2 separate regions of the Homo sapiens genome follow, and region 2 is linked to region 1. Evidence: promoter capture Hi-C in human tissues and cell types (Jung and others, 2019). All regions are on one chromosome and are shown on one strand. The core of a region is centred on a gene start or on the middle of the fragment in contact, and the rest is flanking DNA. Distances in the headings are between cores, read along the strand shown.

Region 1 (5,349 bases), core at 2,208-4,707:
GCACTGAAGGTACCTTACAACTGGCTCATATTATCAGAGGACCTTGGTCCTTTCTAAATCTCTAGTCTCTCTTCATATCCTTCATCAGGTGTTTTAAGATGTCTCTGAGAAGCCATCAAGGCAAAAGAGAACTTTAAGTTCCTTGTTCCAGCCCGGAGTTTTGGGAAAGAAAGAAAGGAAAGGTCACAGTGACCTAGGATTGGAACCTTCCTGCCCTTTTGGCTTGCAGACTGCCTTCTATCCCAGAACAGCTGAGAAATCTATGAAGCTGAGATTCTGAAGGACCCAGCTTAGGTTCTTCCACTTAGGCCTCAATTCCCTTCCTTTTCCAGGGGCAGCCTTAGTTCCCATGGCCCTGAAACACACACATTTCCCCCTTCCTTTCCCAGAAGCCACTGGCCCCCCATAGCACCCAGTGCATCCTTTTTACAAGTGGAAGAACTAGGATGGCTTTCCAAAGTCTTCTAGAAATGAAGTTCTTTCTCTGTGCAGCTTTCCCCCTTGGAGCAGGAGTGAAGATGTTTCATTATCTTGGGCCTGGGAAACCACTTCCCCAGGCTTCTCCCTCCCCCCACCCCCATAGGAACAGGATTTGGCCTTAGCTTCTGGGCCTATCGGCTGCCTTCCCTCTACTTCCTACCACCTCTTCTGCCTTCCTTTGAGCTCTGTTGGGCTTGGGGATCTTAGTTTTCTTTTGTTTATTTCCCAGCTCATTTTTTTCTTCTGGTCAGTTTTTTTAAGGGGGGGTGTTGTGGTTTTTTGTTTTTGTTTTGCTTCTGAGAAAGCATTTGCCTTTCTTCCTCTCCCAACATAACAATCGTGGTAACAGAATGCGACTGCTGATTTACCGATGTATTTAATGTAAGTAAAAAAAGGAAAAAAAGAAAAGGGCATTGGAGTGTTGCTTTTTTTTATTTTATTGTTATTATTATTATTATTTTTGCTATTTGTCAGGTACTAGGAATTTGGAAGAAAGGATACCCAGTAATGTTCTACTGAATCAGAAACACACCTTTCCCTGCATCTTGATACATCTTTATTCCCTTTAATCTTTTCTTAAACATCTAGTTTAGAAAATAGCCCTTCTATTGCTATTTAATCACCCCTCTTCTAAGGCCACTAGATTGTTCATCAAATCAAACCCTATTATATCTTTTTAGGCCCTCTTAACAGAATGTATATGTGTAGGGTATGGTCTGTGGATCTTTGGGCCCACTGATCAGATTAGAGAGAGGGGTGCTATTTGAAGTAGTATACAAAAATGTATGTGCATATTTCTTTTTTTTTTTTTAATTGAGACGGAGTCTCTGTCGCTAGCCTGGAGTACAGTGGCACGATCTTGGCTCACAGCAATCTCCGCCTCCTGAGTTCAAGTGATTCTCCTGCCTCAGCCTCCTGAGTAGCTAGGATTACAGGCACGCACCAACACACCCAGCTAATTTTTGTATTTTTAGTAGAGACGGGGTTTCACCATGTTGGTCAGGCTGGTCTTGAACTCCTGACCTCGTGATCCACCCACCTTGGCCTCCCAAAGTGCTGGGATTACGGGCGTGAGCCACTGCGCCCGGCCGTATGTGCATATTTCTAGGATCCATTTCTATATGTTTCTCAAAGGGGTCCATGACCCAAAGGTTGAAAAACATCACTGAGTTAGTTTTCTTGTAGCTTCCACCTCAACGGGAAAATTTCCTCTGGATCTGCTCTTGACTCCTAGTGTACTTCAAACCCTTCAGTCCACCACAGTCTAAAGGTCGAGGGAAGGGAAATGAAATAGGATTATGTGTGGTTGCAGTAGGCTTTAAATTCCAAAGAATCTGAAGGTGGATAGGAAAGAGGACTGGTGCCAGACAAATCTGACATTCTAGGCCTGTCTCTGTCAACTTAACCAGCTGTGGCCTTGATCAAGTTAGTTAGTGCCTTCCGCCTCGTTTCTTCATCTGTAAAGTAAAAGCTGAAGATTAAGGTCAATTATGTAAAGTATGTGTGTCACACAAAAGTAGATGACACTATTAGGAAGGAGGCTTTTAGATAGTCCCTAACTGACTTCTCTGTATCTTCCTTTGGCTGAGACTTTTTTTTTTTTAGGTTGAAGCTCGCTTTCTCTCTCTCTCCCTCTTTCTCCCTCTCTCTCTCTCTCTCACTCTCTCTCTCTCCATATATATATACATATATATATATATATATATTTTTTTTTTAACAACTGGTAGGATAGGTTGGGCATTAGCCTTCTTCAGTGATTTGATTGTATACAGATTGAAATCCTTTCCATTTCCAAACACTTAAGAGCCAAAGCCAACTTGCCAACTTTTCACTGTCGGTTCCCTTACCTTATATCTCTTGGTAATACCCCCCACCCCCGTTCCCTGATTCCTGGTAAAAGCTCTAGTTGGAGAGCCGAAAGGAAAGGAAATGATCTTTCAAAATTAAAGGTGAACACCTTCACTTAAACTGATTAAAATTGCAGCTCCACCGTCCGGCCTCTAGAGGGCAGTGTATGGATACATTTGTCCAGATTGGGGGACTAGGTTTGATAAATTTTGTCCTGCATCAAATGACAAAAGGGTAATAGGAAATGTATTATATTTATGCCCCTTACTTTGAGATAAGAGACTACAACCTTCATACTTCGGGGTGTTAAGCTGCCATTGCTCTTGTTAAGGGGCAGTTTGTTTTTTAAGAGATGGGGTCTTGCTCTGTTGTCCAGGCTGGAGTGCAGTGCCGCGATCTTGGCTCAGTGCAACCTCGAACTCCTGGGCTTAAGCGATCCTCCCGCCTCAGCCTCCCGAGTACTGGGACTACAGGCGTGTGCCACCAAGGGGCGATTATTATTTTTTTTTTCTACGCAAAATAAAAGACGGCTATTCAGTGTTGTTGTTTCATTTTTGTTTGGGGAGAAATTCGACTAGCCCAAGGAATCTCAAATTCTTGGAACCACTATTTTAGGCATTTCTGTTATCATTCCTGGAATACGAGAACTAAGCGATTGACTTTGCTTTCCCTAAAAGATAAACAGGGTAGTTGTAGTTGCAACAGAGTAGATAGAGGTAGGTCTACCCTGGGTTTAAAGTGGAGATCACAGCCGGGGAAAACCGGACTGGATCCCGAGGCCTCCTCCAGGGAGGGGCGGCAGGGGTGTCTCAAAATCTCCCACCTGTCAGCCCAACTTTTGGATTCCTTGTCACCTTCCACACTGCCCGAGCTCCGGACATACAGCCCTGGTGCACAAGGGTCCCATTCTTTGCACACCAGGGGTATAATGGACTCCGGACTGTTGGCGAGAGTGACAGCAAAAAGAGCCAGCCTCTTCTCCCAGGCTTCTTAGCAACCTGCCTGTCTCGGCTCCAGGAGGCGGGTTCCAGCCAATGGTTGAGCCACCCGCTTCCAGCCAATGGCTGAGGGATAAGCTGAGGGGAGTGAGAGGTCACTTACTGCAGCCGGACATAACGGCGCTGGCCCCGCCCCTTCTCGAGAACTCGCAGAGCTGGGCTGGTAAAATTGCAGTGCTGAAGACACTGGACCCGGTAAGGAGACTGGGGGTGGTAAAGAAGCTGGGGAGGAAGGGCTGCTGAGCTGGGCAGCGGAGGGGGCCTTGGTGTCCAGCTGTGCTCCGAACCTCAAGGGCAACAAAACTATCAGTACCTGCCTCCACTCCTTCTGTCTGGGTGCTCTTGAGATCGCGGGGTGTTGCCGCAAGACCCTTTTGTGCCTGGATGCCGGACGTATGTTCCTACCTAACGTGCCCATGGGGAGTGAGGGGTCATCACCTGCACCAACGGGTGGCATTTCTGTATTACAGCAAAAGGCTGTCCCTCCCAAACCTGGGATTCTGGGCTCACTGAGTTCACCTGCGAGTCAGCCCTACCTGCACTGCTCTGGTCTAGTACAAACAGGCTGCTGGCATTGAGGTAGGTGGCAGAGAGAGTAATGGTCCCATGGCCCAGGGGCAAGGTGAAGACTGCTCCTATTCCCATCTCTAGGTTTCCTTTCCTCCCTACCCACGACCCACCCACCCCAGCACATTGGTCTCCAGCATCTCATCAGCAGTTTAGACATTTGTCACCCCTCCTCACTTTGGCCCTGCTGGGTCAGTGCTCTCTGTTCAGCAATTTGAGGAAGAAACTTGCAGGGCAGAGAGCAGAAAAATTACCTTCCTTCTCCAGCCTGCCCCTGACACTCTGGCCATTAACTCCTCAATTTGCTGAGCTCACTACAGTGGCACAGAGAAGATTGAGGTGGTCCGGGACCCTAGGTTGGGGTCCAGTTCCCAGCTGGGTTCAATTTTTTTTAGGGTGAATGGAGGGAGAGTTGGGGACTGAAAAGCCTTCAAAGACAATGTTATTACAGCAGTCTCCCCTTATCCAAAGTTTCCTTTTCCTGAGTTTCAGTTAGCTATGGTCAACCGCTTGGAAAATAGTTGAACACAGTACAATAAGATATTTTGAGGCTGGGAGTGGTGGCTCATGCCTGTAATAATCCCAGGACTTTGTGAGACCAAGTTTGAAGGATCACTTGAACCCAGGAGTTTGAGACCAGCCTGGGCAACATAGTAAGACCTCATCTCTACAAAAAAAAAAAAAAAAAGACCATGCATGGTGGCACACGCCTGTGGTCCCCGCTACTCAGGAGGTTGAGGCAGGAGGATGGCTTGAGCCCAGAAGTTTGATGCTATAGTGAGCTGAGATCACGCCACTGCACTCCAGCCTGGGCAGAGCAAGACCCTGTCAGGGGCAGGGGGAGGGGAGGGGAAGCCGGACAGTGGCTCATGCCTGTAATCCCAGCACTTTGGGGGCTAAGGCAGCAAGAGGCCAGGAGTTCAAGACCAGCCCTGACAACATAGACTCCCATGTCTACAGAAAAATTAGCCAGGCTTGGTGACACACACTTGTAGTCCCAGCTGCTGGGGAGGCTAAGGCAGGAGGATGGCTTGAGCCCAAGAGGTTGAAGCTTCAGTGAGCCATGATCGACACTTGCTCCATCGCCCAGGCTTTTTTTTTTTTTGAGACAAGGTCTTGCCCTGTTGCCCAGGCTGGAGTACGGTGGCGCCATCATAATTCATTGCAGTCTCGACCTCCTGGACTCAAGCCATCCTCTCATCTCAGCACTCCTCTCCCCACCACCCCGGTAGCTGAGACTACAGACAGGCACCACCATGCCCAGTTAATTTGTTTTTTTTTTTCTAGAGACACAGTCTCACTATGTTGCCCAAGCTGGTCTTGAACTCCTGGAGTCAAGTGATCCTCCTTCCTTGGCCTCCCAAAATTTTGGGATTATAGGCATGAGCCACCATGACTGGCCAAAAAAAAGTATATTTTGAGAGAGAGACCACATTCATATAACTTTTTTTTGTTT
Region 2 (5,172 bases), core at 1,305-3,804, 210 kb after region 1:
CACTCTGCCTCCTCTTCTCTGGGTTGTAAGCTACCTGAAGACAGGACGATATCTTCTATTTCTTTTTGGCCCTCCTAGCACTCCACAGCCTTTAATACAGGGCTTTGTACATGGGTACTCACCTAATTCTGGATAAAGTGCATCCTTGGGCAGGCTTTCCCTCCATCCACCCAAACACATAAGACATCCTGTAGTGGAGCTAAGGGTTATCCTCTTCTCCTCTGCCCCTGTCCTTAATGCCAATATCTGAGAAGCAGTGACCCCCAGCCCAGCTCTCCAATGCCCTCCTTCTGCTACTCTCCTGCTCTTCCTCCTTTCAGGCCTTGTTGTCAGGACATGAAATCACTCCACGTCCTGAGTGACACTCACTCTAGGATCTCGTTGTATTCAATTGTCTCCTCCAGGTTCTGAAGGTTGGGGTTGACACTGCGGATTGCACGCATGTATGCCTTTAGCAGCTGGATGTCTCGCTTCTGTTGTGGGGAAGAAGAACAGGAATAATGGTTAAGGCAGACAGCAGAAAAAAGACAAAAGTTTATCCAAGAATGAGGGCAACTGAGAGATCTGAAGAACAACCAGTTTGTAAGCTTCAGGAAGACAGGGATAAGACTGTCTCACTCACAGCTGTCTCCTTAGTACTTACAAATGTGCCTTCACAGAGGAGGCATGTGATAACTGGTAGGTGAATTAATGCTATGAATGGGATGAAGAAAAGTCAAGGAGAGCTCCAATCTGATTCCCTGCTAAGCCACAGGCAGAATATCCACTCATCTAGGCTCACAAGTGTAAGCACTGGTCTGTGTGTTCACAACTGGTTTTTATTACCCACAGGCAGGCAGTTATCTGCATATGAGGGATATGTTCTCCCCCGTGTCTTGGGGCCTACCTGCTCCGCCAGCTGGTGTTTGTGTTCAGCTGACGTCTTCTCCAGCTCTGCGATGCGTGTCTGCTGCTGCTGTACCACTGAGCGCAGGTGCTTAATGCAGTTATGGTTGGGCAGCTCATCTTTGGGCATCTCCAGGCTGCAGACCAGGGTGGGGAAAGAGCAGAACAGAGGTGATCCCTGGGACATGTATGCAAATGGCCTATTCTGTGGCAGATAACTGCTAAGTAGATTTTGTCCTACCCAAAATTTCTAACATTCATTTCAGGCCTCCCTCTTGTTTATTCCCTTCACTTTCTTCGTCCAAGCTTCCTACTTGCCCCTTTGCTGTCTATTTTCCTTAAATTTCTTTCCCCAATCAAGACACAGTGTTTTATCTATTTTTTAAATTTATTTTATTTTGTATTTTTATTATTTTTTTTGACACGGAGTTTCGCTCTTGTTGCCCAAACTGGAGTGCGATGGCATGATCTCAGCTCAGCGCAACCTCTGCCTCCCAGGTTCAAGCGATTCTCCTGCCTCAGCCTCCCGAGTAGCTGGGATTACAGGTGCGCGCCACCATGGCCGGCTAACTTTTTGTATTTTTAGTAGAAATGGGGTTTCTCCATGTTAGCCAGGCTGGTCTCAAACTCCTGGCCTCACGTGATCTGCCCCCCTCGGCCTTCCAAAGTGTTGGGATTACAGGCGTGAGCCACCGCGCCTGGCCTTTTTTTTTTTTTTTCGAGACCAAGTTTCACTCTTGTCACCCAGGCTGGAGTGCAATGGCACGGTCTCAGCTCACTGCAACCTCCGCCTCATGGGTTCAAGTAATTCTTGTGCCTCAGCCTCCCGAGTAGCTGGGATTACAGGTGCCCACCACCACACCTGGCTAATTTTTATATTTTTAGTAGAGATGGGGTTTCACCATGTTGGCCACGCTGGTCTTGAACTCCTGACCTCAGGTGATCCGCCCGCCTCGTCCTCCCAAAGTGCTGGGATTACAGGCGTGAGCCACCGCACGGGGCCTATTTATTTATTTTGACACACTGTTTTTATCTACTGCACAGCTCTCCTTTTCCTCCTACAGATTCTGCCTGTGCACTTATTCCTTCAGAGAAGCCCTATATTCACAGCCCCAGCTATCAACATTCTTTTTATTTTTTAGTTAGGGGGAACAGAGTCTCATTCTGTCACCCAGGCTGGAGTGCAATGGCGCGATCTCAGCTCACTACAACCTCTACCTCTGGTTTTAAGTGATTCTCATGCCTCAGCCTCCTGAGTAGCTGGGATTACAGGCGAGCACCACCACACTTGGCTAATTTTTTTTTTTTTTTTTTGAGACGGAGTCTCGCTCTGTTGCCCAGGCTGGAGTGCAGTGGCTCAATCTCTGCTCACTGCAAGCTCCCCGTCCCAGGTTCATGCCGTTCTCCTGCCTCAGCCTCCCAAGTAGCTGGGACTACAGGTGCCTGCCACCACGCCTGGCTAGTTTTTTGTATTTTTAGTAGAGACGGGGTTTCAATGTGTTAGCCAGGATGGTCTCAATCTCCTGACCTCGTGATCCACCCGCCTTGGCCTCCCAAAGTGCTGGGATTACAGGCGTGAGCCACCGCGCCCGGCCCCACACCTGGCTAATTTTTGTATTTTTAGTAGAGACAAGGTTTTGCCATGTTGGCCAGGTTGGTCTTGAACTCCTGGCCTGAAGTGACTTGCCCACTTCGGCCTCCCAAAGTGCTAGGATTACAGGTGTGAGCTAACATGCCCTTCAGCTATCAACATTTAGTCGAATATTTCATAACCCACAGAAATAAAAAAATAGGGCAAGAGGAAATATGAGAAGGCTGGCAATTATAGCAGTCAACCTGACAAACGGAAAGTAGTATTGGACTGAAAGGGAAGAATAGAGTCAATCAAGCTTTAATGTTATTACACAAATTTACTAAATTGCTGTGCCCCTTCTTTTGTTAAAGCAAGAGCAAAATGATTATAGTTGGAAAAGCAGCAAGAAAGTAAGATCTTAGAGCAGGAAGCCAAGGAGGCTAAGAATACTCCTTGCCAACATGCCAAAGAGACCTCCTCAGCTAGTGAGGAGGGCAGCCAGAGACAGGGGCATAAATGAGATGGCCCTTATCCATGTGGGGCAGAAGGGAACAAATCTCACCCACAGCCCTGTTCACAGGTCACAGGCCGCTTCGGGTTGTGCTCACAGTCGCTGAGGTGAGACATGAGGTTGTCAAGCCGGACAACGGCACTACAGCCGAACACAGCGTTGTCACAGGCAATCTGCAGCTTTGACAACATGTTCCGCATGATCCGAGGTACTGGGCGCAGATGGGCGACCGTCACAACACTACGGTCCACTGGACATGTCTGTTGCTGAGAGAACCACTGGGTGATGCAGGCGTTGCAGAAAGCATGTTCACAATGAGGTGCCTAGAAGAGAGAACAAGGCAAAAGGGGCGCAAGGGAATTAGCAGGACCTAAGAGCCTGGATATGATATAACTCTACAAAGCCAATCAAGCCTTTGAGCAGCCTCTACGACAAGAGGTCCACTGGGTCACAGCAAAGTATAGATCTACTACGGGCAAGGCATTGTAGGGGACAGGCTTAAGATACGTTTCCTGCTGGGCACGGTGGCTCATGCCTGTAATCCCAGCACTTTGGGAGGCTAAGGCAGGCACACTGCTTGACCTCAGGAGTTTGAGACCATCCCAGACAACATGACAAAACCCCATCTCTACAAAAATTACAAAAATTAGCCGGGCATAGGCCGGGCGCAGTGGCTCACGCCTGTAATCTCAGCACTTTGGGAGGCCGAGGCAGGCGGATCATGAGGTCAGGAGTTCAAGACCAGCCTGACCGACATGGTGAAACCCTGTCTCTACTAAAAATAAAAAAATTAGCCAGGGGTGGTGGCGCATGCCTGTAATCACAGCTACTCAGGAGGCTAAGGCAGGAGAATAGCTTGAACCCAGGAGGTGGAGGTTGCAGTGAGCCAAGATCACACCACTGCACTCTAGCCTGGGCAATACATCTCGAAAAAAAAAAGCTGGGCCTGGTGGCACGTGCCTATAGTCCCAGCTAGCCAGGAGGCTGAGGTGGGAGGATGGAGGATGGCTTGAGCCCATAAGGCGGAGGTTGCAGTGAACCAAGACTGCACCACTGCACTCCAGCCTGGGTGACAGAGCCAGAACCTGTTTCAAAATAAATAAATAAATATATATATATATATTCCCTGTGCTCAAGATTAAAAATGAGTTGTGAAACAAGACAAACAAGTAAAAAGTTATATAACAATAAGAGATACAAATGATATTCTAGGACAATAGGACAGATGACACAAGGCAGCCAATTATTAATTGCCATCTGGATTGCATACACAATAATTGCCAAAAATGTCCAGAGGAGGGTGAGGTCTTTTCAGGCTAGCTCAATCACGGCAGGTATTTATGAAGAGGACAGAATTTGATATGGGTCTTGAAGGATAATTCAGATGATAGATTTAGAGAGGAGGAGGACATATTTACTGGCAAAAATTCAATGTAAGAAAGCTAGGCCAGGCATGGTGGATGGCGCCTGTAATCCCAGCACTTTGGGAGGCTGAGGTGGGCGGATAATGAGGTCAGGAGATTGAGACCATCCTGGCTAACATAGCGAAACCCTGTCTCTACTAAAAATACAAAAAATTAGCCGGGCGTGGTGGCGGGTGCCTGTAGTCTCAGCTATTTAGGAGGCTGAGGCAGAAGAATGGCGTGAACCTGGGAGGCAGAGCTTGCAGTGAGCCAAGATCATGCCACTGCACTCCAGCCTAGGCTAAAGTGTGAGACTCCATCTCAAAAAAACAAAACAAAACAAAGCTAAATAAGGCCGGGCATGGTGGCTCATGCCTGTAATCCCAGCACTTTGGGAGGCCAAGGCAGGCAGATCACTTGAGATCAGTTCAAGACCAGACTGGCCAACATGGTGAAACACAGATATATTCATATATACATATGTATACACAAATACATATATATGCAGACATCTATTCATATTTGCTTATATCTGCCTTAAGACACACTGGAAGGATACCAAATAAACTAATAAAAATAGTTATCTGTGGGGGAATTAGGTGCACAGTAATAAAGACAGAAGTGAGAATTCTCACTGTATACCTTTTGATTTCTGAACTATGTTCATTTTTCACCTATTCAAAAAATAAATAATTATGATGTGGGGAAATCAGCATCCCTAGCAGGAGCCTTCTAACCTTAGAAATGTGTCTGGGAACCTGGCATCATGAGGGTTGCCTGCTCTGCTCCTCAGAAGATAA

What was found. The method cuts DNA at HindIII sites, captures the fragments that hold promoters and counts their contacts. A contact is called where the count stands out against the background at its distance.
Region 2: a contact is called between a fragment that was not itself captured here and the fragment with the promoter of SUOX in region 1, in 1 of the 25 tissues and cell types used here (pancreas).

Annotation. Positions count from the first base shown.
Region 1 is chr12:55,993,819-55,999,167 of GRCh38, forward strand. SUOX (sulfite oxidase) reads left to right here and starts at 3,458. Exons shown (of 5, transcript NM_001032386.2): 1 at 3,458-3,521; 2 at 3,797-3,905. RAB5B (RAB5B, member RAS oncogene family) reads left to right here. Exons shown (of 6, transcript NM_002868.4): 6 at 1-2,865. RefSeq lists an enhancer at 3,232-3,732 and a silencer at 3,318-3,507. The HindIII fragment of the contact is 9,188 bases long and covers 1-5,349 here.
Region 2 is chr12:56,207,277-56,212,448 of GRCh38, forward strand. RNF41 (ring finger protein 41) reads right to left here. Exons shown (of 7, transcript NM_005785.4): 4 at 3,021-3,292; 5 at 887-1,022; 6 at 370-473. Among named protein-coding and RNA genes, the nearest start is that of RNF41, 12 kb to the right of the region's middle. RefSeq lists a silencer at 854-903. The HindIII fragment of the contact is 6,706 bases long and covers 1-5,172 here.